Regions from separate parts of the Homo sapiens genome. Here region 1 is linked to region 2. The links are contacts of gene promoters, found by promoter capture Hi-C in blood cells and fetal thymus (Javierre and others, 2016). All regions are on one chromosome and are shown on one strand. Each heading gives the region's core, a stretch centred on a gene start or on the middle of the fragment in contact. The rest is flanking DNA. Distances are from core to core; before and after follow the strand shown.

What was found. The method cuts DNA at HindIII sites, captures the fragments that hold promoters and counts their contacts. A CHiCAGO score of 5 or more calls a contact.
Region 1: a contact is called between a fragment that was not itself captured here and the fragment with the promoter of MAP3K5 in region 2, in 2 of 17 cell types (megakaryocytes and M0 macrophages). The highest score is 5.6, in megakaryocytes.

Annotation. Positions count from the first base shown.
Region 1 is chr6:136,708,150-136,714,791 of GRCh38, forward strand. All of the region lies in intron 2 of MAP3K5 (mitogen-activated protein kinase kinase kinase 5), which reads right to left. Among named protein-coding and RNA genes, the nearest start is that of MAP3K5-AS2, 73 kb to the right of the region's middle. The HindIII fragment of the contact is 4,062 bases long and covers 3,017-6,642 here.
Region 2 is chr6:136,787,670-136,793,952 of GRCh38, forward strand. It overlaps MAP3K5 (mitogen-activated protein kinase kinase kinase 5), which reads right to left and starts at 4,808. Exons shown (of 30, transcript NM_005923.4): 1 at 4,041-4,808. The coding sequence starts at 4,488. RefSeq lists enhancers at 3,558-4,073, 4,179-4,248, 5,039-5,268, 5,379-5,438, 5,809-5,888 and a silencer at 4,379-5,018. The HindIII fragment of the contact is 11,326 bases long and covers 1-6,283 here.

The sequences.
Region 1 (6,642 bases), core at 3,798-6,297, 79 kb before region 2:
AAATGTTTGTAGCAAGTGAATGTATTACCTTAGGACAAATAAATAAAAGGTAAACCTTGTTAAAGTTTTACACAGACTAATTTGATGATGTTACTTAGTATTAATTATTTTTTTTTAATTTTTTGAGACAGGATCTCGCTATGTTACCCAGGCTGGAGTGCAGTGGCATGATCATGGCTCACTGCAGCCTCAACTTCCCAGGCTCCAGAAATCCTCCCACCTCAGCCTCCCAAGTAGCTGGGACCACAGGTGCCTGCCACCATGCCTGGCTAATTTTTGTATTTTTAGTAGAGATGGGGTTTCACCATGTTTCCCAGGCTGGTTTCTAACTCCTGGGCTCAAGCAATCCGCCTGCTTCAGCCTCCCAAAGCGCTAGGATTACAGGTGTGAGCCACCGTGCCTGGCCATTACTTAGTATTTGATGGGGAAAAGCATTTAGGTGGCTACTGAAAAAGTCCAGAGACATCATAGTAAGTGCTTAGTCAATGGGGGTGCTCCAGGAATGGAAATCAAGGGACAGATGAGTGGCATTGTAGAGGAAGGTTGAAAGTGGCTTTTCCTGCAGGTGTTTCAAATAGTTAATATTGCGCACACACAGAAATGGCTCACGAACAAGGAAGCTGAAAAATGTTGGATAATCACAAAGCCAGGAACACAGTATGCAGAATTTTTCAAACTTGATCTATGGAGCATCTCTCCAGAGTAGCAAACCATACGCTTGCAAATATGGCTCTCACTTGATAGAATATCCTTCTCTCTTCCCCTCTGAGTAACGAGGAAATGCCCTCTCCGTCCTCTCTGTGCAGCATCCTCTGTGCAATGTATAAGAAACCTGTCTTCTGTGAAGCTGGCCTTCACTGTGTTCTGTGACACCCCCAACAGAAGTAGATTATGTCTTTATCTGTGTTGTCATTAATCCTCACACACATCTCCTCGAAAGCACTTCATTTTCTACATTGCACATTTTTGTTCCTATGATTCTCTCACCCTACATCATGACTTCCTCGCGTGCAAAGACCATGTATTTTATTCATATTTGTATCCTGACTGACTGTCTAGCAAATGTCATGACATACAGCGGGTACTACAAAAGCATGAATAAATGAATAAATTAATGAATGTATAAAATATTGGACTATGAATTAGGGGTAGATATATGTAAGATATGGCTCTGCTCCCAGCTAGCCATTTCACTTCTCTCTAATGTGACACTAAGAGAGTTTGACTAAGTGATTGCTAGTCTCTTCTAATGCTGTGTTCATCAATTGCTTTTGCCTAAAGGGCTCTCATAGTCAGTCTTGTCCTTGTGCTGCTAGAAGGAGAGATGCCCTCATGCTCCCCCAGCATACAAGATATTCTACCCTTGACTCTGTTTTTGATGCACCAGGCACAGAAATGGAAGTGGCAGGGAAGGGAGCAGTGGTGAGTACTGAGTGAGCAGAAGGCTCTATAGAAAAGCAAATGGCCACTACTGGCTTAGTGCCAATATGCTATATCTTCCTTATGAATTGCTCATTGGAATAATAACCCTCTTACATGTCTCCTCCATCTTCATTTCAGATTATGCATACCTTATAATGCATGCATTTTAGATTATGCTTGCAGATTGTGCCTGCAAACTATAAAAATCATTCCTGAGCCAGATGATGGTGTGCACCTGTAATCCCAGCTACTCAAGAGGCAGAGGCAGGAGGGTTGCTTGAGGCCAGGAGTTCGAGGCCACAGTGAGCTATGATCGCACCACTGCACTCCAGCCTGGGTGACAAGAGAGTCCCATCTCTTAAAAAGAGAAAGAAAAATCATTCGTGTAACATCTGAATTCTTGTTAGCTATTGTTTATGCTTTGTAGATGCTAAAGGGCTACAAATCCTGTTCTCCTGAAGGAGACAGAGTTTATTCACAGTTTATCATGTAACCTTAAAGGAGGCATCAACTTTAATGGAGCAAAGGTACTGTTTGTTCATTTAACTCAATCCAAATAAATAACAAATAAGACCTTGAAAGGTATCTAGAGCAGAGAATGCTTAATTTGTATTAAATCCACTAAAGAGGGGTGGGAAGGAAAGGGAATAAATTTAAGACATAACTGCTCTATTTCACATCAGCTCATGGAAATTTTCCTCTCAAGTACCTATGAATAAGAAGATAAAATCAATATAAACTCCAGTTCCTTGCCAGGGGCACATTTCTGAAGATGCATTACCCCACTACAACTCCATACTTGTCTGAGGTATTTAGGGGGCTTTTGGTCAGTGTAGCCCCGGCTATACCAGAAACATTCAAAAAAATTCTTTTCCTGATTTTCTGGTATTGGTTGATAACCAATTAAGGGGAGCAAGACTAAAAAAAAAAATCTAGTCCAAGGCTCATTTGAAGGCAAAGACTAACTTTTGATAGCTCTCTGGGACAGTGTTTGAAAAGGTCACCTCAGGGATAACTAAATGGAGTATTTCCACCACTAGAAAGTTTTTGTGCCTAAAATTTAGGTAACTGCAGCCAGCGAAAGAAGTGGGAATAGCAGGCATGGGGTGGCCAAGTCAAATCAAACTTGGGGTGGGAGAAGCAGGAATAGGAACCAGGATTTCACCTTCCTGAAAGAAGAGAAAGGAGCAGGCTTGGAGTTCTTGCCCAGGGAAAGAACCTCTCCCTGGCTGGTGACTTTCTGGGTCTTCCGTTCTGATCCATCTTTCTGTCCTAGTGGAACTTGGCAAGTTTTCCATTAAAGTTGGGGAAAAGAAGAATAATCCCTATACTCCTCAGCTCCATCTTCTTAACTCATTTCAATGTGTCAAAAAAGCAAAACAAGAAACTATCAGATGGGCTGTCTGGGCCTCCTAGGCCTTGCTGAGAAGGAGAAACACCCCCGTACCCTTTCTGCACACTGCTAAAACAAGCTGAGCAGACTCAGGGAGAGTAATCCAACAAAAGTGTCATAGAGCCGTGACACAGAGTCTTTAAAGATAGATAGGAAACAAAGTACTTTTGTGTTTACATGTTATGCCTACATAAAAGCTCAAGCTTTAAAAGAAAAAAATCTCAATAATCTTAAAAAAAAAACCTAGAAAATCATCCTTTTGCAGAACATATGAAATCTGTGGATAGACTGAGAGAGGAAAGTACCAGATGACAAGTCAAAGAATATAGGGCTTATCCTTGCCCCGACACTAGCTGTGTGTGTTCCCCAAACAAGTCATCACGCGTCTCATTTCTCTTCTGTAAAGAAAATATCTTCTGGCCAGGAGCGTTGGCTCATGCCTGTAATCACAGCACTTTGGGAGGCAGAGGCAGGCAGATCACTGGAGCCCAGGAGTTTGAGACCAGCCTGGGAAACACGGCAAAACCCCATCTCTACAAAAAAATACAAAAATTAGCCAGGTGTAGCAGCATGTGCCTATACACCCAGCTACTCAGGAGGTCGAGATGGGAGGATTGCTTGAACCTGGGAGGTGGAGGTTGCACTGAGCCAAAATGGCACTACTGCACCCCAGGCTGGGTGGACAAAGTCAGACCTCTCAAAAAAAAAAAGAAAGAAAGAAAGAAAGAAAAAAGAAAAAGAAAATACCTTCTATCTCTCCAATCCAAATAATATCTAACTTGTCTGTCTCGTTGGGTTCTATGTAAAGGCCAAATGGAGTAAGTTAATGAAATTACTTGCAGTACTTTAAAGCTATTTATAGGAGGAGGTATTAATAAACCAAAGCAAACAACTCCAACTCAATTCCTGCACTGCCAGGTCTAGAGACCTTTTACACCTCTGTTATTCATGACGGGGGCTAAGAACACATCCTTCTCTTGCATATGAACACCTATCAATTAAAACAACCTGTACCAAAAATCAGGTTAAATTATATCAAAGCTGGAAAGTAATCCTAAAAGGAATTCTAGCCTCTCTTTTCCCTATTAATTTCTTTTCATATTTAAATAAGTATATCTTGGTGGAAGAACTCTGCCGTAAGTAGGTATCTGTCTCTAAACTGGCTGGAATGCTGATGAATGACATTTTATACATAAAGCATTTAATAGAGCTTTTTTTTTTTTTTTTGAGACAGGGTCTCACTCTGTCACTCTATCACCCAGGCTGGAGTGCAGTGACATGATCTCAGCTCACTGCAACCTCAACCTCCCCAGGCTCAGGCAATTCTCCTACCTCAGCCTCCTAAGTAGCTGGGACTACAGGCACGTACCACCATGACCAGCTAATTTTTGTAGAAACTGGGTCTCACTATGCTGACCAGGCTGGTCTTGAACTCCTGGGCTTAGGTGATCCACCTGCCTCAGCCTCCCAAAGTGCTGGGATTACAGCTGTGCCCGGCCTAACAGAGCTTCTTAACACAAACTTCACTTTATACTGTGTTGCTATTATAATTAACTTCTTCTTCTTTTTAACCAGTTGTTTCTTTCAGCAACACCTAATTGGGTCACATTATTCAAGTGCATGTATTACTTTTCTTAAACTGTATTGTTAAAGTTGGAGGTATAGTGAATTTTTCTACAGTAAATCATACTTTACACATTGATATGGTTTGGCTGTGTCCCCACCCAAATCTCAACTCGAATTGTAGCTCCCATGATTCCCACATGTTGTGGGAGGGACCTGGTGGGAGATAACTGAATTACGGGGGTGGTTTCCCCCATACTGTTCTCGTGGTAGTGAATAAGTCTCACGAGGTCTGATGATTTTATAAGGGGTTTCCCCTTCCACCTGGCTCATTCTATCTTGTCTGCTGCCATGTAAGATGTGCCTTTCACCTTCTGCCATGATTGTGAGGCCTCCCCAGCCACATAGAACTGTGAGTCCATTAAACCTCTTTTTCTTTATAAATTACCCAGTCTCAGGTATGTCTTTATCAGCAGCATGAAAATGAACTAATACACACACATATTTCAGTAATAGTTTCAAAGATATATTCTAAAAAGGCCCAAAGAGGGTGATGGGTTACAATGCCAAAAAGATCAACTTCCACAGAAAGAGTCATTTATATAGCATAAGTGAAAATAAAGATAATTCAGCAAGGCTTGCCCCACTCCTTCCTCTGTGTGCAGAAGTAGTCCTTCTTACTCTTTAAGGGTATTCAAAATCATAGGCCTACGACCAGAGTCACTACAAATGAGAAAAATAGCTGGTGCCCACAGTCATATAATGGCATTGTGCATCGCCTCTTAGACAAAATGGTAACAAGAGATTCAAAACAGTGGGCAAGGAGTGAGGGTGGTTAAAGAGGTATCAGGAAGGAGAAAGCAAGGGCATATTTTACCCAGTCTATACATAATTCCTTAGAAGGTATACTATTGCTAATTGACATCCAAGAAAGCTGAATTCTCCAGTCTTGAGTCCCTTTAATAACCTCAGGGATTCTACAATTGGGAAGTCAACTCCTGCTAAATAAATCATTCATCTAGCTTGTCAATTCAAGATCTTCAGAGAAAACCTTCATAAAGCAGTGTTACATGAATTGCTTATTTGCTCCTCCCCACAAATTACCTCTTTCCTTCCCCAATTTGAGATGGAATGATTATAGCTTAGATGAAAGTTAGATCATTTCTGAATAAATAAAATAAAGGAACAAGATTGTCTCTACCAAATGAAAAGAAGTGTAAGGGATAGCAACGTTGAACCAGGAAGAGTAGAGTCCCAGGGTTTTTAAATCAACAGCTGGTTATAAAGTAAGCTAGAGACTTTCAGAGATGTCCAGAGGCAGCACTATTAAAAAGGGGTAGGGCCAATGTTTCCAGTTCACAAATTGTGAGACCACTTTATAGGATCATATTTTCCAAGGATGTTTTTAAAAAACATTTACTGAGTGTGTACTTTGTACCACTAACAAGTTGATGATTTTTAAAATGCTGAAAAGAATCCAGCAAAAATTCTTTGTTAAACTAAAAGAATCCTAAACCTTTGAAAAATAAAAATTTTAATTCCATGCACAACTCAAGCTAAAACCAAATTCATCTTATTTACTTTGATAAGGGAGGCAAAACTTTAACAAAAGGAAGTACTGTTTTTTGTTTGTAAAAACAAAAAGATAAAATGTTTTTATGGGTTTAAGAACACTCTGGAATCCGAGTAGATTCTCCAAATACAGGTAAGAATTCAATTTAAGTGTGAGGTATTTGTAACAAATTACCAGGTGTCCTCACCAATTTACAAACTGGTATAATCATCAAAATTTACACATGGACATCACTGCTATTTTCAAAACTATAACCATTTGCTTCAAATGGATATGAATGAGTGCCAGAAAGACAAGACTCCGTGTTTAAGTTCTAAAGGAGATTGAGTCCCTCAGTGCCTGCAGATAAAAGATCATGGGTCTAGGTATCACAGAACTGCTCAAATGAGCAGTAGTTTTCAACGTTCATTTATGTTGTACCATATGTCAAAATTTCCTTCCTTTTTAAGATTGAATAATATTCCATTATATGTATATACCACATGTTGTTCAGCCAATGATCTGTTGATAAATATGTGGGTTGCTTCCACCTTTTGGCTACTAAGAATAATGCTACCATGAACATGGGTATATAAACACCTCTTCAAGATCCCGCTTTCAGTTCTTTTGGGTATATATCCAGAAGTGGAATTGCTGGATCATGTGGTAATTTTATTTTTAATGTTTTGGGGAGCTGCCGTATTATTAAAAT
Region 2 (6,283 bases), core at 3,558-6,057:
TGTTCAATTCCCCCTTCACTTCTAACCCTGGTCAATTTTACAGGCAAAGAAACACCACTGGAGGCAATGAAGGGCCGTTCTCACAATTACATGGTTCACAGCAGAGCTGGGATGAAAACTCGGATCTAATATGAGGGACCATGTTCTTCCCACTATCTCATAAAAATTCAACTTTCAAGTACAGGTCATGGGTGTAGAGCAAAGGTCAGCATGGCACAGGGGCCAAATCCTGTGGGCCACCTGTTTTTGAGTATGGCTTGCAAGCTAAGAATGGTTTTTACATTTTAAAATGGTTATAAAACAAGAAATCATACTTTGTGAGGTATATGAAGTTCAAATTTCAGTGTCCACGAATAACGTTTGGTTGGAACATAGTCATGATCATTTGTTTAGGTCCTGTTTATGGCTGCTCTTGAGTAATAGGGCAGAGTTGAGAAGTTGTGAAAGAGACCTCAAGAAATGAAACCACACACCTAACACCATCTGATCTTCAACAAAGTCAACAAAGTAAGTAATGGAGAAAGGACTCCCTATTCAATAAATGGTGCTGGCTAGCCATATGCAGAATAAAATTGGACCCCTATCTATCACCATATACAAAAATTCATTCAAGATGGATTAAGGTTTAAATGTAAGACCTCAAACCATAAGAGTCCTAGAAGAAAGCCCAGGAAATACCATTCTGCATCAGCCTTGGGAAAGAATTTATGACTAAGTCCTCAAAAGCAATTGCAACAAAAACAAAAATGACAAATGGGACCTAATTAAACTAAAGAGCTTCTACACAACAAGAGACACTATTAAGAGAGTACAAAGACAACCCTCAGAATGGGAGAAAATATTCACAAACTACGCATTTAAGAAAGGTCTACAAATCAACAAGCAAAACAACAAATAACCCCGTTAAAAAGTAGGCGAAAGATATGAACAGACACTTCTCAGAAGAAGGCATACAAGCAGCCAACAAACTTATGAAAAAATGTTCATCATCACTAATCATCAGAGAAATGCAAATCAAAACCACAATGAGATAACATCTCACACCAGTCAGAATGGCTTTTGTTAAAAAGTCAAAAAATAACAGATGTTGGCGAGGCTGCAGAGAAAAGGGAACACTTACACACTGTTGGTGAGAATGTAAATTTGTCCTGCCACCGTGGAAAGTAATTTGGAGAGTTCTCAAAGAACTAAGAGCTGAACTACCGTTCGACCCAGCAATCCCATTACTAGGTATATACCCAAAGGAAAATAAATTGTTCTACCAAAAAGACACCAAACCAGATATTGAATGTTCTCACTCATAAGTGGGAGCTAAACATTGGGTACAAGTAAACTTAAAGATGGGAGGCTGGGTGCGGTGGCTCACGCCTGTAATCCCAATACTTTGGGAGGCCAAGGCAGGAGGACTGCTTGAGGCCAGGTTTGAGACCTGTCTGGGCAACATAGCAAGACCCCGTCTCTACAAAAAAAACATAGTAAAATAAAATAAAATTAGCCCAGCGTGGTGGCTCATGCCTGTAGTCCCAGCTACTCGGGAGGCTGAGGCAGGAGGATCACTAGAGCCCAGGAGTTCGAGCTAGCAGCGAACCATGATCATGCCACTGCACTCCAGGCTGGGCAACAGAGTGAGACCTTGTCTCTAAAACAAATAAAATAAAATAGAAACAAAGGGTTTGGATAAAACTGATGCACTACCTTCATTCTGTCACATTTTCATGCTTTCATGCTGACTGAGAGGGCACTCATCCTGGGAGTTCATGCCATCCAGATGGGCAGGGGTTAAACTGAGACCTGTCTAGGTTGAAAGAAGCAGTACGAAGGGACAGAGTGGGCGCAGGAAAAAGAGGCTTCCGAGAGCATGCCCTCCCCACTATTCCATACACACCTAAATGCCTGGTAAGATCTTTGCCAGCTCACTCACATGATTCCAAGATAGGGAGCTTCCCTTGATTCTGAGAGTAACTCAGCCCACCTAAATGGAGGAAGCAAGGGCCAAGCACAACCTCTTTTTTTTTTTTTTTTTTTTTTTTTTTTTAAGACAGAGTCTCATTCTGTCACCCAGTCTGGAGTGTGCAGTGGTACAATCTCAGCTCACTGCAACCTCTGCCTCCCAGGTTCAAGTGATTATCCTGCCTCAGCCTCCTGAGTAGCTAGGACTACAGGTGTGCACCACCATGCCTGGCTAATTTTTGTCATTTTAGTAGAGACAGGGTTTCACCATGTTGGCCAGGAGGCTGGCCTGGAACTCCTGACCTCAGGTGATCCACCCGCCTTGGCCTCCGAAAGTGCTGGGATTACAGGCGTGAGCCACCACGCCTGGCCCAAGCACAACCTTTTAGGGTCAGCCACCTGAAGTGGAATCCTGCATTGGCCACTTACTCCCTATGAATCCTAGGGCCAGTTAGGGATCCCTGGGTTTTCTCACCTAAGAAGGTAAGTACTTCCTTCACAGGCTTGTTTGGAGGATTCAATGAAATACACTCAAACTTCAGCTCCCTTCTAATCATTCTCTCTCCCTTTCCCAGAGACAGTATTTGGAGAATAACAGAAACCAAGCCTTGTTAGGAAAGTTTCTTTCAAATTAGCTTAGAGTTTAACATTTTTTTTCTAGAGCCCTAGGAAAAAAACGCCCAATCAGTGCAATAAAAATAGGCTCAAGTGTTCAGTTGGGTATTTTCCTCTCATATCTTTTAGTTCTTTGAAGTTTCTTCCAAATTATAATCCAAAAATAAGAGTGCTACAATTTTTAGAAAAGTTATGTTGATGTAACTTTTATAGCAAGCTACCCAAAGAATCAAGCTATATTATAGCCATGCTCAGTTATGAAGACCAAAACTATTTTAAAAATACCAGAACGAGAAAGTCCTAGTTTATTTAGTCTGGCTTCCTTAACATGAAGGTCTTGTTGTTCTCAAAATATTCAGCTTTGGCTGAATTCCAAAACTGACATAAGCCCACTTCAGGTGTTTGGAAGACACTAAAGAGAATCAGAATTGAAAACAAGATTGGAAAATAAAGCCTTTTATGTGATCACAAATGCAAGAAGTGTATTGTTTTGAAACTACTAAACCAAGTTTTTACCCACAAATGTAAACATAAATATGTATATATTCTCAACACTGGACGTACAGGGGACTAAAGGTTAATTTCCATAATATGGTATTATTCCTAACATTTGCTAACAGCTAAGTGCTTCAGTTACTAGAACTGCCTTAACATTTTCTGAAATTTGAGATAGGTTGAAAGATACATTTCTTTCATGGATTATGCTAGCAATCACTTTAATGGCGAAACTAATCTTATTATTAGGATAGCATACAGGTGTTTTAGACAATGTTAAATTACAAACTTTCTAGCCCACCATGGTTTATGGGGTAATAAAAAACAGGCCCTGGTTCTTTCACCAAAATCCTTACAAAGATAACACACAAGTTCAGTGTAAGTTGTAATGTTATTGCCTTTGGAAGCACTGTAATTACTTCAAAGTCTGGGTTGGTGAGAGGAAATTCAAGCTACTAAAACTTATCGAAGGTAAGGTGAGTTGGGAAGATCATCACATGGCATGCAAATTAATATAGTTACACTCTGCGTGCATGGTATGTCATCGTTCCCGTACTCTCAAAACTACACAGAGAAAAGGAGAACCTCATCTAAAACGGTCACAGGTATATGCAGAAAGAAAACAGGGACCAAACCTCACAGAAGCGAAACCGAGACACTGAAAGGAGAAAGACTGACTGGGGCAAATATCTCACACTGCTGGAGAACAGTTCAAGTCGATCGCATGGACCCAGGGCTCCAGCGCTGGGCGGTGGGTGGATCCATAGGTCTATCGCACAAGTACACACAGACTCTTGCACAAGCACACACGCTCTCTCCGGAGCGGCGAGCGACAGGAGCAGTCACGCAGCGGCGCTCGCTGCCCCCAAAGTGGGGCAAGAAGTAAATGCTTCCCGCCCAGAAAAATGAAATGCCCCGAAGACCGCCAGATTAAACGCGGGTCCCGACCGCGCGGGATGGGAAAGGGGTCACACACGCACCTGCATTGTAAAAGCGGTCCAGCACGGTGGTTTCTCCAAAGTCGAGTTTCCCAAAATGCAGGGTTTCCAGGGTGGCGCCCACTGTCTCGCACGCCTCCCGCAAGCTCTGCAGGGCCTCGCTCTCGGCCACCACCAGTTGCCCTTGGCTCGCTTCGTTGATCACATATGCCACCGTGGTCCGTCGGCTGCCCCCGCCAACAGAGCTGCCCCGGCCTCGGGTGGCACTGCTCGAGGAGGTGGCCGCCGGACAACCGATGCCAGGGGCAGCGGCGCTCTCCACGTTCCAGAAGCTGCCCGGCGGCGGCGGTGGCAGCTGGTGCTCCTCGCCCTCGCCCACCGCCGCCGCTCCTCCCCTCCTGCAGATGCCGCCCTCGGGGATGGTGCAGAAGCCCGAGGGGGCGAAGGGTGGCACAGAGAAAGTGATGCCCTCGTCCGCCTCCGTGCTCATCTCTCCGGGCCGGGCAGCAACGGCGGCGGCGTCCCCCGCCCAGCCGCACCGCCTGGCCAGCCACAGCTCGGGGCTGCTCCGCGCCCGCCGGGCTAAGCAGCTGCCATCGCGCGCCGCGCCCTCGCCGCCGCGCCGCCGCCTCCTCTCCGGCGCCCTCTCCCCCGAGGGCACGCCGCTGCCCGGCGGCGGCTCGCTCCTCCTCGGCGCCTCCGTGGCCGCGCCGCTCGCCCTCTGCAGAGTTTAGAGTACAAGGGGTGGGGAAGCCGGGTGAGCGGGAAGGGACGGAGCTTCCTTTTCTTGGCCGGCTGACAAGTCGGCTCGCAAACCTGCGCCGCGGTGCAGCTCAAGGGCGCCGCGCTCGGGGTGCAGCCCGCCCTCGCCACCCGCCGCGCCGCGCCGCGCCGCGCCGCGCAGCTCCTTCCGTCCCGGCCGCTCTGGGAGGGGCCAGGAAGGGCGCCCCCTGGGTGCGGAGCTACCTGGCGCGCACCTTACGAGCGGGCTGGCTCCCCAGGCGGCGTCCCGGAACAGCAGCAGCGGCAGCCGAAAGGACCCTCCTCCCTCTTAGGCGGCAGCTCGCCTTCATCGGGTGGATTTCCTCCTCCTTGCCTGGCCTCGTTTCTCTTTCGATCGCCTCCGCCGCGTGGTCCCGGCGCCAGCCTCGTCGTTCCTTGCAGACGCTCTCCCTCTCCACCACCAGCTTCTGGCCACCCACTCGTAGCGGCACCGAGGGTCAGGGCCAGCCCCCAAGGAGGGCGCTGCTAGGAAGCTCGAGCCCGGACTGAACTGACCGCGCTGCGGCCCTGGGACCCCAGCCCTCCTCTGAGTGCTGCGCGTGGCATAGGGTCCCAGTCTTCACCCACCCGGCCCCCACCTACGAAGACCTGGAGCGCAAGCGATTACGGGGTGGCGCAGAAAGTCCCTCGAGGCAATACTCGGTCTTCGGAGTCCGCCCCTGAAGCATTTCCAGTGTTCCCCGCGACTAGGGCGCCCCCCTCCGGGCCTTGGCGGCCTGGTGGACTGGGACCGTGCGCGGCGCTGGCAGGATAGGCTCCGGGAGACCCACGTTGCGCGAGGCAGGAGGTTGTACATAGCGCCCTGGAGCCAGGGCCTGCACTGGAGGTTGCTTCATTAGTGACTGTGGCACTCCAGAAGTGGCTGGCTAAATTGATCAGGTTCTCCCATGTACTTTTCCTTTTAAAATTTCCAGTGGCTCATTCCGTTATCAGTAATGAGTAATTGATTAGTGCCAACTGCCGAAGGACTTAGTATTCTCATTTAGGATCTTAATTCCCCCACAAGCGCCAGATACTTAAGATAGAAGATGGAGTCTCTACCCGACTCCACAAATTATCAACAAGATGAAACAGGGGAATAACGTGACCTATTCTATTTTTTAAACTGCATCACGCGAGGCCGGGAGGGAAATACCCAGATTGTTTAAGAGCAATCAAAAAAAGTACCTGCTTATTTGGGGAGCAAAGAACAGATGTGTAAGTTCCCAGAGAACCCCAGAATGCTGTAATTGTTAGGAAAGCCAGTGCAAGTTACAACTGAGTAAAGAAACAGGTTTTGTACTTCCCATCTCCAGGAACTGAGACTAGTGAGTCCTGTGAAAAAGGCAGAAGAAAATGTAAATTACTTTTTTTTTTTTTTGAGACGGAGTTTCGCTCTTCTTGCCCGGGCTGGAGTGCAATGGCGCGATTTCGACTCCCTGCGACCTCTGCCTCCCGGGTTCAAGCGATTCCCCTGCCTCAGCCTTTCGAATAGCTGGGATTACAGGCATGCGCCACCACAC